3 separate regions of the Homo sapiens genome follow, and regions 1 and 2 are each linked to region 3. The links are contacts of gene promoters, found by promoter capture Hi-C in blood cells and fetal thymus (Javierre and others, 2016). All regions are on one chromosome and are shown on one strand. Each heading gives the region's core, a stretch centred on a gene start or on the middle of the fragment in contact. The rest is flanking DNA. Distances are from core to core; before and after follow the strand shown. Region 1 holds the start of TPR (translocated promoter region, nuclear basket protein). Region 2 overlaps LYPLAL1-DT (LYPLAL1 divergent transcript). Region 3 holds the start of FH (fumarate hydratase).

Evidence for each region. The method cuts DNA at HindIII sites, captures the fragments that hold promoters and counts their contacts. A CHiCAGO score of 5 or more calls a contact.
Region 1: the fragment with the promoter of TPR here is called in contact with the fragment with the promoter of FH in region 3 in 1 of 17 cell types (total CD4 T cells); the score reaches 7.1 in total CD4 T cells.
Region 2: a fragment that was not itself captured here is called in contact with the fragment with the promoter of FH in region 3 in 1 of 17 cell types (non-activated CD4 T cells); the score reaches 10.7 in non-activated CD4 T cells.

The regions. Positions count from the first base shown.
Region 1 is chr1:186,372,099-186,376,787 of GRCh38, reverse strand. TPR (translocated promoter region, nuclear basket protein) reads left to right here and starts at 1,535. Exons shown (of 51, transcript NM_003292.3): 1 at 1,535-1,910; 2 at 3,325-3,429. The coding sequence starts at 1,760. ODR4 (odr-4 GPCR localization factor homolog) reads right to left here and starts at 950. Exons shown (of 14, transcript NM_017847.6): 1 at 814-950. RefSeq lists enhancers at 921-1,110, 1,281-1,330, 1,491-1,790 and a silencer at 2,351-2,400. The HindIII fragment of the contact is 6,872 bases long and covers 1-3,405 here.
Region 2 is chr1:219,167,313-219,172,034 of GRCh38, reverse strand. The region is part of intron 1 of LYPLAL1-DT (LYPLAL1 divergent transcript); the gene reads left to right. Among named protein-coding and RNA genes, the nearest start is that of LYPLAL1-DT, 4.1 kb to the left of the region's middle. The HindIII fragment of the contact is 5,683 bases long and covers 1-4,722 here.
Region 3 is chr1:241,518,371-241,522,635 of GRCh38, reverse strand. It overlaps FH (fumarate hydratase), which reads left to right and starts at 2,881. Exons shown (of 10, transcript NM_000143.4): 1 at 2,881-3,045. The coding sequence starts at 2,914. RefSeq lists silencers at 2,767-2,896, 2,719-3,001, 3,177-3,446 and an enhancer at 2,507-3,103. The HindIII fragment of the contact is 3,380 bases long and covers 486-3,865 here.

The DNA of each region.
Region 1 (4,689 bases), core at 286-2,785, about 55 Mb after region 3:
CCAAATGACAGATCAACAGTATGATAATACTGTGGGCTTAGGACATAGCATAATACTTCATATACCAGCAACTTTAATTACAATGCTTATCTAAAAAATATTTTTGGGGAAAAATCAACCTTAAGCTCCGCTGTTGATTTATTTTTCCTTAGTTATTACAAAATATCATAAAATGCTTCCATTTATATTTCTTAGACGGCTTCACAACATGATTCAAAAGTAAGAACTAGAGAAAAAGAATAAATTTCATATAAGAACTAAATCACCAATTCACAGAAGGCCCACGACTGTGGGAACTGCAGAGAGACGACACTGGGAATGCATTATTTACAATGAATAATTTAACAAATTCTTTCATAAGAGTAAACACGAAACAATCTACGGATTGAGCTTTAAAACTACAGAATTATGATCTGGAACCATACAAGTTCTGTTACTGTAGAAATTAACAATGTGTTTAAAAACTTCAGTTACAACAGTTTTCAATTTTAAAAACAATATAATGTTAGGTAACCGTTTCTGCAACGAAAAATTTAAAACATAGGCTACACTCAAAGTGCTACCGGTTTCTTTTAATTCTCCTCCTGAAGAATTAACCCGGGTCCTTAAATTCCCGGGTACTGAATCACTCAGTGCCACCTCCCCACCACCAAAAACCATTTAGGTACGCCGTTTCACACAAGGTAAGTTCGTCAGAAGTGTGTGCCGGAGTGACTGTCCATATGGTTCCAACACTGTCCCTTCCTTTTTCTCTTGAAAAGAGAGCACACACACACACACACACACACACACACTACACTTAGGCTGACTTACCTGTTTTCAGAATGTGCACTCGTGGCAGACAATTACCTCGGACGGTCTCTCCGCCGGAGATGGGGGTTTCGGGCCCAAGTACCAGCCTCTAGGGGCCAGATTCCCTCCGGTCTCAATTCACTGCCACTGAATTCATCAGAAAGCGACCTACTTCCCACACCTCACTTCCCACTCCAAAGCCAGGGACTTGGGAGTCAGGTGGCGCAGATTGATGACGTAAAAGCCCCCCCTCCCTTCCCCGCAGAGCCTCAGCCAAAGCGACTGCGGTCGCCACCCCGCCCCCTTCTGGGCGCCATAGAGAGCGTGGCGGTATCCCGGAGCCTGCCGTCCGGCCCTACCGGGACCGATGCCCTCTAGTGGCTCAGTGTCCAGAAGCCGCCAACGAGGACGATCCATGGCATCCCGGGGCTTTGACGGTAAGGTCACCAGCTCTTCAGGGAGGGCCAAGGGGTGACGAGTACGTATGTGGCGCCACCGTGCGGACAGCGGTTACGGGGCCGAGATAGGAGAGCCAGGGGAGCGGGGAGAAAAACGGAAGCTGAGAGGGCGGTGCAGCATTGGGCTCCCGGAAAAGAATGAGAAAAACACTACATTTCCCAGAGCCCTACAAGGCCTGAAGTGGGTGGAGCTGGAAGCCGGAAAATTGGGTGCGCAAGAGGATCAGGGATAGCCTCTGAGCTCGGGTTCCCAGGGTTCGTAGCTTCCAACGGCTGCGCGCGCACTTCGGTCGCGGGCGGTGAGGTGCTGTTGCTGAAACGCTGCCGCTGAGGGTGGACTCGATTTCCCAGGGTCCCGCCGCGGGAGTCTCCGGCGGGCGGGCGCGCGCGAGCCACCGAGCGAGGTGATAGAGGCGGCGGCCCAGGCGTCTGGGTCCTGCTGGTCTTCGCCTTTCTTCTCCGCTTCTACCCCGTCGGCCGCTGCCACTGGGGTCCCTGGCCCCACCGACATGGCGGCGGTGTTGCAGCAAGTCCTGGAGCGCACGGAGCTGAACAAGCTGCCCAAGTCTGTCCAGAACAAACTTGAAAAGTTCCTTGCTGATCAGCAATCCGAGATCGATGGCCTGAAGGGGCGGCATGAGAAATTTAAGGTGGAGAGCGGTAAGTGAGATGCTCTTTCCGTCCTTGGTTTTGGGCTCGACTCCCGCCCTTTGGGTCTGGTCTTCCCCCATCAAGTTGGCACTGGGTACCGCTCTGTTAACCTCACTTCCTGGGCTCTGTGGATATCCTGAGCCTTCGCTTTCCTGCTCCTTACAGTTTGATAAGAAGCCTTTGAAAAAAAAATCTGAATCTAAGTTCAGTAGCATTTTCTTTGTAGTTAGGGTAGGCTCATACAGGGACGCTTATTTTCCTTCGTCCGGCAGACGGGAAACAGACTTGATAGAGTCTGCGAACCCATCTCTCTAAGCCTAGAGTACCTTATATGTTTTGTTGCACTTCAACTGATAGTGGCTCCGCCCTATTTTCTAGGCACCTGCATTCTAGGCCTTTGCCAAATTGACCACTCTGTGCACTTGTTCTTAGTGTGTGCGTCGTCCCGTGGCTCCAGAACGAATCAGATGTTTACAAAAATGAATATTAGGTGCATAAGAGCGCTGGAAACACAGTGAATGTGCAGTACATAAATTTAATATATCTTGATTTCTCTTAAAAAGTTGGAGTTTGATAGAAAACATTAAAATTTTCTTGTAATTACCTAAAGTAGGCCTTTAAGTAAGAAAGTTACTGACAATAATGGCTTGAACATCCTTGAAAAAAATATGAAGAATATAGTCATTACCATTAGTAAAATACAAACTTCCCGTTAATGTGTTTTGGTTTACCATTTGTTTGGGGAGGTTCATACTGTTCTTGCTAAGTTGACTGGAAATTCTGAACAAGTTTTTACTTCAAAAAAAGTGTAACTGTCAAGCAGAATTGACCTTGAAAATTAGTTCTCTGATCCCAGAGCTGAGTATAGTACATTGCATTCTATTTATTAATTTGCACCATAAATATTGAATGTCTTACATGTTCCTGATACTATGCTGAACATGATATTCAATCCCTTCCCTTGGAAAGTTTACACATTTACTTTTACATATATTTAGTAGTTTTATGCTTTCAGGTAATATCTTGACTACTATAAAAGAAGTCTTTTAAAACAAAGGAGTTTTTTTTTGTCTAAACAATTTTTTCTCGTGTAATAAATACTTTATTTATTAAGCAGTTTACTGATGTCTGGAGAAAATACTAAGATAAATGAGGTTACCTGCCTTGAAGACATTGATTTGTAAAGCCCCTTTTAGGCCTTATTTTTATTTTTTATTTTTTGTCATGTAAGTCGTTTGGAAATGCTTTAAGTCCTTTTCAGTGCTCAGTCTATTTATCTTTACTCAGATTCTCTTATGTGGAGCACAATTCTAATACTGTATCTTAAGTTTTAAAATCAAGGTTATTAGAAATAAATAACAGTATTCACAATGTATGTACATGTGTTTGATTTTGTTTTTTGTTTTTTGCTTGTCTGCTGTAGAACAACAGTATTTTGAAATAGAAAAGAGGTTGTCCCACAGTCAGGAGAGACTTGTGAATGAAACCCGAGAGTGTCAAAGCTTGCGGCTTGAGCTAGAGAAACTCAGTAAGTATTTAATTCATCTTTGTAAGTATTCTCGGAGTATCGAAATCTTCAGAGACTCCTTTATATACTTTGGAAACATTTGCTTACTAAACATGAAAATATTGATTAAGCATCATTGGTTTTTATTATGGTGATATTTTGATTTTTCACTTAGTGGTAAAGATTTTGTGAGAACACAGAATTTAATGGTCAGGAGGTCTGGATTCTTATTCTGATTTTGCTATTAAAATTGCTTTTGCCACATGTAAATCTTAACAGTATCTGATTATTGTTTATAAAATGGTTAGACCCACATGTCTGTCTACCTAGACAGCTTTGTAAATCAAATGAGATAAGAGTTCTTGAAATCTTTTTAAAAAGGTGAAAGCATTATGCAACTAAAGAAGTAGAGAGTGGCTTGTTTTTATGTTGAAGAATCGAAGCCTATTGATTTCATTATATTTATGTTTTAACTCCATTTTTTAATAATTTTTATAAATATCTATGAATCTCAGGATATTTCCCCTTTAAGGCCTAATTCCTATAAAAGATTGATAGCTAATCTCTTTCTTACTTTTCTTACATCATTAAGTTTTAGAAAGTTCACAAGATGTTAAAGATCCTGACATTTCTTAGGAGGATGATATGTCTTGTGCTTTGCTTTTCCCATCCAAGTTCTGACCAGGCCCCACCCTGCTTAGCTTCCGAGATCAGACGAGATGGGGTGCCTTCAGGGTGGTCTGGCTGTAGACTGCTTCTGCTTTAAGAAAGCAAACATCAGAACATTAGGAAAGATCTCTATAAAGGTGTAATTAATTTTTTTTTTCCTTTTTTTTTGGAGACAGAGTCTCACTGTGTTGCCCAGGCTGGAATGCAGTGGTGCAATCTTGGCTCTCTGCAACCTCTGCCTCTTGGGTTCAAGCGATTCTTGCGCCTCAGCCTCCTGAGTAGCTGGAATTACAGGCATGTACCACCAGGCCCAGCTAATTTTTGTATTTTTAGTAGATACAGTGGTTCGCCATGTTGGCCAGGCTGGTCTTGAACTCCTGGCCTCGAGCGATTCTCCCGCCTCGGCGTCCCAAAGTGCTGGGATTGCCACTGTGTCTGGCTGGTATAATTAATTGATACTTAATATAGTTCAATTTTAATTTGATTGATGGAGAAGGAACACAGGAAGTTCATAATCAAATGATTAAAATTGCAGCTTTCCTTCTTAATGGGTCCATGACCATCAACTATTTAGGTTATAACTTTTTTCAGCTACTTTTGGTACACCTCATT
Region 2 (4,722 bases), core at 1,085-3,584, about 22 Mb after region 3:
GTACACCACCCCACGCTTTTGAGACAGCAAAAAATCAGAATATAATTATTTAAGAGTAATGATTATTAATAATAATAAGCAACTAATATTCATGGGATTCAGTAGGTGCCAAAAACTGTCATAAATTAATTCCAATAAAACTCAGTACTATTACTATCTGCTTTTGTCAATGAGGCTCAAAGAGGTAAGGAACCTGGCTCAAAGTCATAGTGCCAGTCAATTGTAGAACCTGGATTCACATGCTGGGCTTGACTCCAGAGCATAGGTTCTTAACTATTACCCACATTTACACATGAGTGCACAGAAATGAAGCAAGGGCATGTCGCAACTCTTATTTCAAAAACAAAAGTCTGGAATTTGTATTGTGGCCCTTTAGAGTCTCTATTTATTAGGTGTTCCTGTGCTTCTTTAGTTTTTCCCAAGTCTACTGCTATTAGTTCCTGATTTGTTCTTCCAACTATTCTACCAGTTTAAACAGGTAGATAAGCAGGTGGTAAATACCAGAAGCAACCTTCTGTATTCTGAATTTCACTGAGAACTCCAGCCTTCCCAGATTCATTATTAGAATGAGCCAGATTCTTCCACACTTAACCAAAGTGCTATTTTATTTCCAGTGATTTAAATGCTTAGCTATTGTTGCTATTCCTTTCATCTGTATTTGTTTATAGGACAAGCAAAGGTTTTAGATTACCTATATTTAGAGATCCCATCTGGTAGGCAAACTGTTGAACAAAAATGTTTTGTTCCTTTCATGTTACTGTACTACTTTGAAATGTAATTAAGTTTCAAGATGACTATTTGCTTTTGTGGTGGATCTTTTGCCCTATTGAAGGTGGGGGAATATTATCACTGGAAGATTCCTATTCATACATTCTTTTACTCTTTATATAGCTCCTAATTATTTTTTGTTGCTACTCATTTGCTTTCTGCCAATCTATATGCACCTCCTTTTGGTAACTTCAGTTCTAAACTTAAAAAAGCAAGTAAACAAAATAAAAGAAAAAGAAAAAGTTCTCCTGTTTTGCAGGGTTTCAATATCAATTAGGATCTAACGATATAAATGGCAAAGTCGGAGTTTAGTTTACTGTTCTTCAGTGTGTTGAGAAATGCTTTAGGCCACACTTAGTTTTCAAAACAGAAAAGCAATTGAAAGTTCAGCCATTAAGATTAGTATATTTTGCCTGGGTGCAGTGGCTTACTGTAATCCCAGCACTTTGGGAGGCCAAGGCAGGCGGTTCACTTCAGGCCAGGAGTTTAAGACCAGCCTGGCCAACATGGCGAAACCCCATCTGTACTAAAAATACAAAAAAACTTAGCCGAGCATCATGGCGCATGCCTGTAATCCCAGCTACTCCGGTGGCTGAGACACAATAATTGATTGAACCCCGAGGCAGAGGTTGCAGTGAGCCAAGATCTCACCACTGAACTCCAGCCTGGGTGACAGAGCAAGACTCTGTCTCAAAAAAGAAACAAAAACAATGAACAAGATTAGTATACTTGGTATTTTCAAATGATAACAGTTAAATGAAGTTGCATTTGTCACGCAGACAGTACACAGTTTCCCGTTTGTTGTTTGGCTCATTCTTAAGCATCAAACCATATCCTCTCTATTGGTTAGTTTTCATCTGTTGCATCATTCAGAGAGAGAGAAACACACACACACACACACACACACACACACACACACATATATATATAAACAATATATACACATTGCACAAAATGCTTCAGCTTCAGCTTTAGGTAATTTAACATTTTGTCATAGATAAATAAAATGATTTCTTTTATGCATTCCCCCTGTCCATTCATGAAAGAAAAACTAGAAACAAACTTAAAGGTCCTGAATTCTTACAAAACAGCAAAACTATACTTTTTATAAATGAGATTATAAACTTTAACATAATCATTGCCTCAGTTCTGGGGACCTTAATCTTTTTCAGTCCAGTCTTTCCAGATACAGATATGGGTCATTCCTCTACTTTACCTTACTACTAGATGTGCATGGTCTCATTCTCTTTTTAGAGCAGATGGGTCACGTGGGGCATTGTGAGATGGACTGAGATGGCATTGGCAGTAGGGGTAGGGGAATACATGAGCTCCTCAAACACAGACCAAACGCAGCCTTGGAGAATGGATAGTGATTACTCTGCTGGATTATTAACAGTCAACATGATACACACCAAAGCAGTATGTAGGCCCTAGAGGAGGACAGTGAACTTTCCTCCCTTGGGTGCAGGCTACAGGGTCAGTGTTTATGCTTGGACACCAGAACAATGTTCTTTGCATTGCCATTTGTCTCCTCTTTTCTGGGAAATGGGTCTTCTTCCATTTGGACACCTCTTATGGCCAGTTCTCAAATTCCTAAGTTACCCTCTGGAAACACTTCTTATTCAACTTCCACTCAGTGCTTATATGAGTCTGAGGAATCCCTCCTGCAATCTTCATATTTGTCTCTGTACTCTAGAACCTATTACTTTTTTCTTCTATAACAAATTTTCAGGCTTTTGAAATCCAGGGCAAGAATCAACAGCAACCCCTAATCAGGTTTTGGGCCCTTGAGGGCAGGGAAGTTCAAATCCTACCATGAGATGAGGGGAAGTCATTGCATTGCATACGTCTATTACAAAGAAAAGAAATAAAAGCCAAAAGAGTAATTTCCTTATGAATGCAGTCAGAATATCTACTGTATTTTGCTACATTCATTTAAGAGAAGATTAGATAGGTAGATATAAAAAATGTTGAAGTAATGAAATGATAGGAGTTCCTGTTCCAGCCTCGGGGATGACAAGCTATGTAAATTAGACAGGCCATTTAGTCTCATTGGACACGTTTCTCCAATTGTGAAATAAGGGAGCAGGACTTGATGGAGAAGCCCCAGGTTCTGTCATTCTGAGATCCTGAAAGAATTTAAATATGTGACATGTGCCACTCATTTATGAATATACCTCTGATGTTTAACTCTACTTATAAAATAATGGTTCAAAACTCTTAATTGCACTACATAAACTTTTAGTTAGTAGTATGAGAAAGATCAGCACATGTGATTCTCCTTCCTCCTTGTATGGCTGAGTTTAGCAGCCTTAATCTCTTCCTACTCTTTCTGTGATTACTTTTAAAAGCCAGGAAAAAAAATTTAAAAAGACCTTTAAAAAAAGATAATTAGAAAATATAAAGTCAATTTTTGCAATTTGAAAAATGGAAGTGCACTTTATTCTGAAGTAGACTATTTTCAGGTTGTGTCTGTGTATGTGCATATTTCTCTGTGTATATATATTTATGAATATTTTCTATATATGTATAATTGGCATCAAGGTATGACAATGGATTTTCTTTTATTATAACTATATATGAAGAAAATCGAGACGCTTTGAAAAATCTACCTTAGTTTATATTTGAAAGGCAAATTAATACAATTATTTTGTCTTATCATATTTCCAAAGAATTTACTTTCTTATAGATTGATGGCAAAGTGTCAGTCTTCAAGAGCAGATATTCTTTGTGTAGGTTAAAAATGGATGCAGGTGTATATACCGAAAAGTATTGAAAGCAGGGGCTCAAAGATGTACTTGTACACTCATGCTCATAGCTGTGCTATTCACAACAACCAAGAGATGGACGCAACCCAAATGTCCATCAACAGATAAATGGATAAATAAAATATTATATATACATGTAATGGAATATTATTCAGCCTTAAAAAGGAAAAACATCCTGTCACATGCTACAACATGGATGAATCTTGAGGACATTATGTTAAGTTGAATAAAGCAGTCACAAAAAGATGAATACTGTATGCTTTCCCTTATATGAAATATCTGAAGTAGTCAAATTCATAGAAAAAAAAGTATAATGGTGGTTACCAGGAGCCGGAGAGAGGAGGAAAAGGGGATTAGTAGTTTAATGGATATAAATTTTCAGATTTGCAAGATGACAAAGTTCAGGAGATTTGTTTCATAACAATGTGAATATACTTAACACTACTGAACTGTACACTTAAAAATGGTTAAGATCATTTTACATTATGTGCTTTTTATCACAATAGAAAAAGGATGCAAGTGACAAGAGAAGTTTAAAGCAGTGATTATTCAAAATGTTAGTTTGTCATTCATTATATATTTTCATTCATATGCATTTATTTAGTTTTCCTTCACAGGGGTTAACAAAATAAAATAATATAAGTGAAAACAAATATCTTTATTAGACACTCTTGCAAACCTGAAAACACATACACAATTTCAAAATAATTATAAACAAAATTGTCATTGAGCTGTGGTAGAAGGTGCGATGGATTTGAGGTACGAAAACCTAGGTTTAAGTACTTTTCCTGCATGGCTAGTCCTGTGAACTACTAAATTGTAGTTGCCTTAATAGCAAGAACTGTTTTATTTCTTTGTATCCTCCTGAAATACCTAGAACAGTGTCTCAGATATTACTTGTTGGAGTTAAATTATGCTTTTAATTGAGTTATATTTTGAACAGGAAGGATGAACAGAGAGGAAAGCGCTACACTCCTCTGGCATCTACTTGTTACTCTGGCATGTAAGCAGTAACCAGAGGTACACAGGTGACAGGCCACCTCTTGGAGAAAACCAGCCAAGGCCAGGGTCAGGATCACAATATTAGGCCTGGTTTTCAGCTTAGTGTGGGAAGCAAAATTTTTGAAAATTACAAAGCCCAATGTCAAATCTTGTAGTGAGAACCAAGCAAAGCTAGAACATGACC
Region 3 (4,265 bases), core at 1,632-4,131:
AAATTTTTTGACATCTTGATCATGTGAAAACATTTTAATTCTCTTCACACACTTGATTTCTCTGGGTATAGAATATAAAGTTGGAAATAATTTTCCGTTAACAATTTGAAGACATCATTCAACTGCTGTCTGGCTTCCGATATTGTTGTTGTGAAGTCTAAGGATTTCTAATCCTTTGCTTATTTATTTTTCTCTCTGAAAGATTCCAGTCTCTTCTCTTTGCCCTTGGTATTCTAACATTTCTTGTTGACATAACTCATTCTGGCTAGTTCATATCTGCTAGTTCTACAATATATTTTTCTGAATTTATTTTTTTAAGGTTTATTCCATTTTTTCCTAATGTTTCCCCTACATTATTCACATGTTGGACATACTGAACTGTTTCTCTAATTTTATTTACTTCTTTTATTTTCCTTCTCTTTGAATATTTGCTCTACTTTCTGGGAGACTTTTATGGGTGTATCTTGCAAATTTTCTGTTAAGCTTCCTCTAGGAAACCCACTGGTAATCTCCCAGGCTGGGAGGTATCCTAAATTAGAATTTGCAAAAGTCTTTAGTTTGAATAAGGAGAACATTTTGATTGATACAATTTGAACCTCGCAATCAATTTTGTCAGCCAGGTGTTGAGATTTAGAACACAGGCAAGAGAAAACCATTGCACTTTTCCCTTGTCCCTCAGCAGGACACCAATCACATCCCCTACCTTAAACAGAAAGCAAAGTAAAACAAACAAGAACAAACCAGGCAAGCATCAACAAGAAGAAAGCAGGTCAATATTATTATCAGACAAGTCCAAAGTTAAAAAAAAAAAACCCAAACTCTAAGCAAAGTAAAAACATTATTTCAAATAGATAACATAAGTCATTCTAAAATGAAGATATCTAGCCTTTATTAAAGGCTTTATGTACGTTTTATTACGAATTAATAAAAATAAATTAGCTAAGTTAATATTTCCTAAATTTTAGTCATTTATATAGCATCTTCATATTATACTGAATATTTTACTTCAAATAAAATGAATAATTAAAAATGGAACTTCATATTACTACTGCAGATAGAAAATCAGTTTCACTAATAAATCGAAGTAAAACACACAAATAAATATGTGGATGTTCCTGGGCATCAATTTTTCTCTTCTATGTACAGGAATAATAATAGGACCTATCTCATAGGGTTGTTTTTGAGTGTTCCAAGAATTAATACATATAAAGTGCTTTGAAAAATTCTAGAACATAATATGTGTCATAGGTAATTTTTAAAAGGGATTAAAATAACCTATTTATAAAAAGGCTATTAATTTGGGTTTTGAAAAGTTAAACTGTATGGTAGAAATAAGAGACATGCTCGAAACAAAAATGAAACAAAAAATAAAATAAAATGAGAAATATACAGCAGGCAAATAATAGCCAATATGAAATTGGTAGAGAAATATCAATATTAAAAAAAGTTTAAAAGGACAAGCAACAATAACAATAAAGAGGGGCACCACACAATGAAGAAAGAGATGATCTATGAAGAAATGATAAACATATGTTCATTAAATAATTTTGTGTAATAGCAAAGAAAAATGTTCTTTATTAAGAAACTGGATAAATAAAATATTTCATATTCATGTGATCCAATATGATTAATTTTAAAAGATCATGGCTATATCTTAAAAGCATAGAGTTCAATTATGCAACAGTAAAACTTTAAAGTAAAATATTAAAACCATTGTTTGTATATTAGTGTATGAAGCAAAAAATACACAGAACTGAAAGGATGCATCAAAATAATGATATACACAATAATGATACCTGCTGGGAAGGAGGAGAACAAAAACAAAACGTCATTCCATTATTAGCAATGTTTTAAAGAATTTGCATTCAGTTTTCTAGTGTGTTTTGATTGTAGTTCAACTATTACAATCTCATTTGAATTTTTATATTTTAAATATGTGTCAAATTTATAAGTCACAAAATAACATAATGTTACCAAAAGGTTTGGCAAGTTTGTAAGTTTGACTCATAAATTTGGCTTTGCAGGTTCTGGACTTTTGATTTTAAGAACATCCGATCGCTCTCTCTTTACTGTCATCTGGTTCCAAGCAATAGAAAAGAGAAAAGATAAAACTGTGGTTCAGATGCAATTTTATATCAATTCCTGCTTTTCTGTAATCAACTATTATATTAAAACAATATGCCTTTAATTTGAAAATGTATAAATTAGCTATGCAAAAAACTGGGAGAACGATATACAAATAATAAAAATTCCGAGGTTCCCTATAATTGTGTACGTCTTCCACAATACATTAAAAAAAAAAAAAGAGTTCTGAGGGTATAGGCTAAGAAGAGAAAGGAAACGGTAGCGATCTCAAAATGATAAGTTAAAAGAAATAAGTAAGTAGCTTATTTTTCAGTTGTGGGATTATGAATAATTACTATTTCATTATCTACACTTTGCTGCACTTCCCAAAATTTCTACACAGAAGATACAATCTGGAAGAAATGAAGAAAGATTTCAGTAGTAAGAACGTGTAATGAGTGATTACATGATAAATAAAACAATAAATATTTCTTTCTAGGATATTTCACCAACCAAACACGACCTGATTCACCAACTAATACTCCCGCCTTCTAACAGCCACACGTAAAAATCAGACCGGCTCCAAGAATAACCTGAGCCTCCTTTCCCATAATTCCCTTCTTTCTAGTTTCCCATGAATCCGAAGGCCTTACACCCCACACTACTACTAGAAAGTTAACCCGCCCCCTCATTCTTTACTGGTCATTCACGATTGGTCCTGCCCCACCTGTCGGTGTGAGGCTGTTGATTGGATAAGAGCGGAGGCCGGTGGGCGGAACGGTTTCTGACAACCGGCGTGGAGGCGTGGCCACAGCCGCCCAGAAATTCTACCCAAGCTCCCTCAGCACCATGTACCGAGCACTTCGGCTCCTCGCGCGCTCGCGTCCCCTCGTGCGGGCTCCAGCCGCAGCCTTAGCTTCGGCTCCCGGCTTGGGTGGCGCGGCCGTGCCCTCGTTTTGGCCTCCGAACGCGGCTCGAATGGTGAGCGCAGGCCGCCATCCCCCGGCCTCCCCGCAGTGACCTTCAGCCCTCCTGCCTGCCGGCCTGGGCGCCCGCGACTTGGCGGGAGAGATTCCCCGGGCGTCCGGGCCGCGCCAGACTCTGGGCTTAGCGCCCGTGCCGGCGTGGCGGGCCTCCCGGCCTCGGGACGCCTCTTCCGGCGCAGGGATGGAGCCGCAGCCCGGGAGAGCGCTTGGGGAGGGACGGGGGCTGTCAGAGAGGGTCCTACTGGGCCCGCTCCCGGCGCCTCCTCGGAGCCGTCCGTGGCGGGCCGAGGCCGGGGCGTTTTGAGGTAACTTCGCTGCTGCTGGCGCGCAGGCCCCCAGCCCCGGGGCGCTGCCCTCAAGGACAGTGCCGGCGTGGGCGGAGGGTGCTGGGAGAGGGGCAGCTCCCGCACCGTCCTGCCCCATAGCTGGGCCTTGCTGGCCGGACACTGGCCGCCTGTGCATCTAGTGGTTTCTGAACTGTGGTTTGTTTCGCCAAGGGGCACTGCACTGCTTTCAGGCCCTCCAGGTGGGGTAGAAGGTTCTTCGAAGATTTTACTTCCTTTGAAATTGCATGCTCAGTTTGTTAGGCTGACTATGGTTTCCCCCGTAATTGTTGTAAAACTCTTCAATTCCGAATACCGCGGGCATAGTGTTCTGAAGCATGTTTGAGCAGATTGGCTAGGAGCTGAATCGGTACTTTTTATTCAGAAAGCCAGCTAAGAACTTAAAGATCCAAGTTCAGGTTATGACATGCTTACGTAAGTCATTTTGCTCTTTAGAGTGTCATCTTTAGGAATGCAGGCTTTTAAAAAGCTTTAAATACATATGTATATTGTTAGGAAACGTTTGAGAAATGATAGTTGAAGAGTTACAGTTCTGCACTGGTGTAGCATGAGGTTTGCAATCTAAGAGATGTGATTTCAAATCCGTATGCAAAGTTGAAATACTTACAGCTACTCAGCAAAACTGCACATGTGAAAATACCATGTAGCGAGTGCTCATTAAATAAGTGCCCCATCTAGGGTATTTCAAAGGGCCAGTACTTTTTCTGGACTCTAAACTTCAAGATAATTTGATTGGGTCACTATACCTACGATATACAACTATACTACAGAATCAGAGATGTTTTGTATTCCTCGAACTCCCTGCTCGAATAATTTTAGGGCATTTTAAAACCTTTACATATTTTTAAATTTATTTATTGTTTATTTAGTG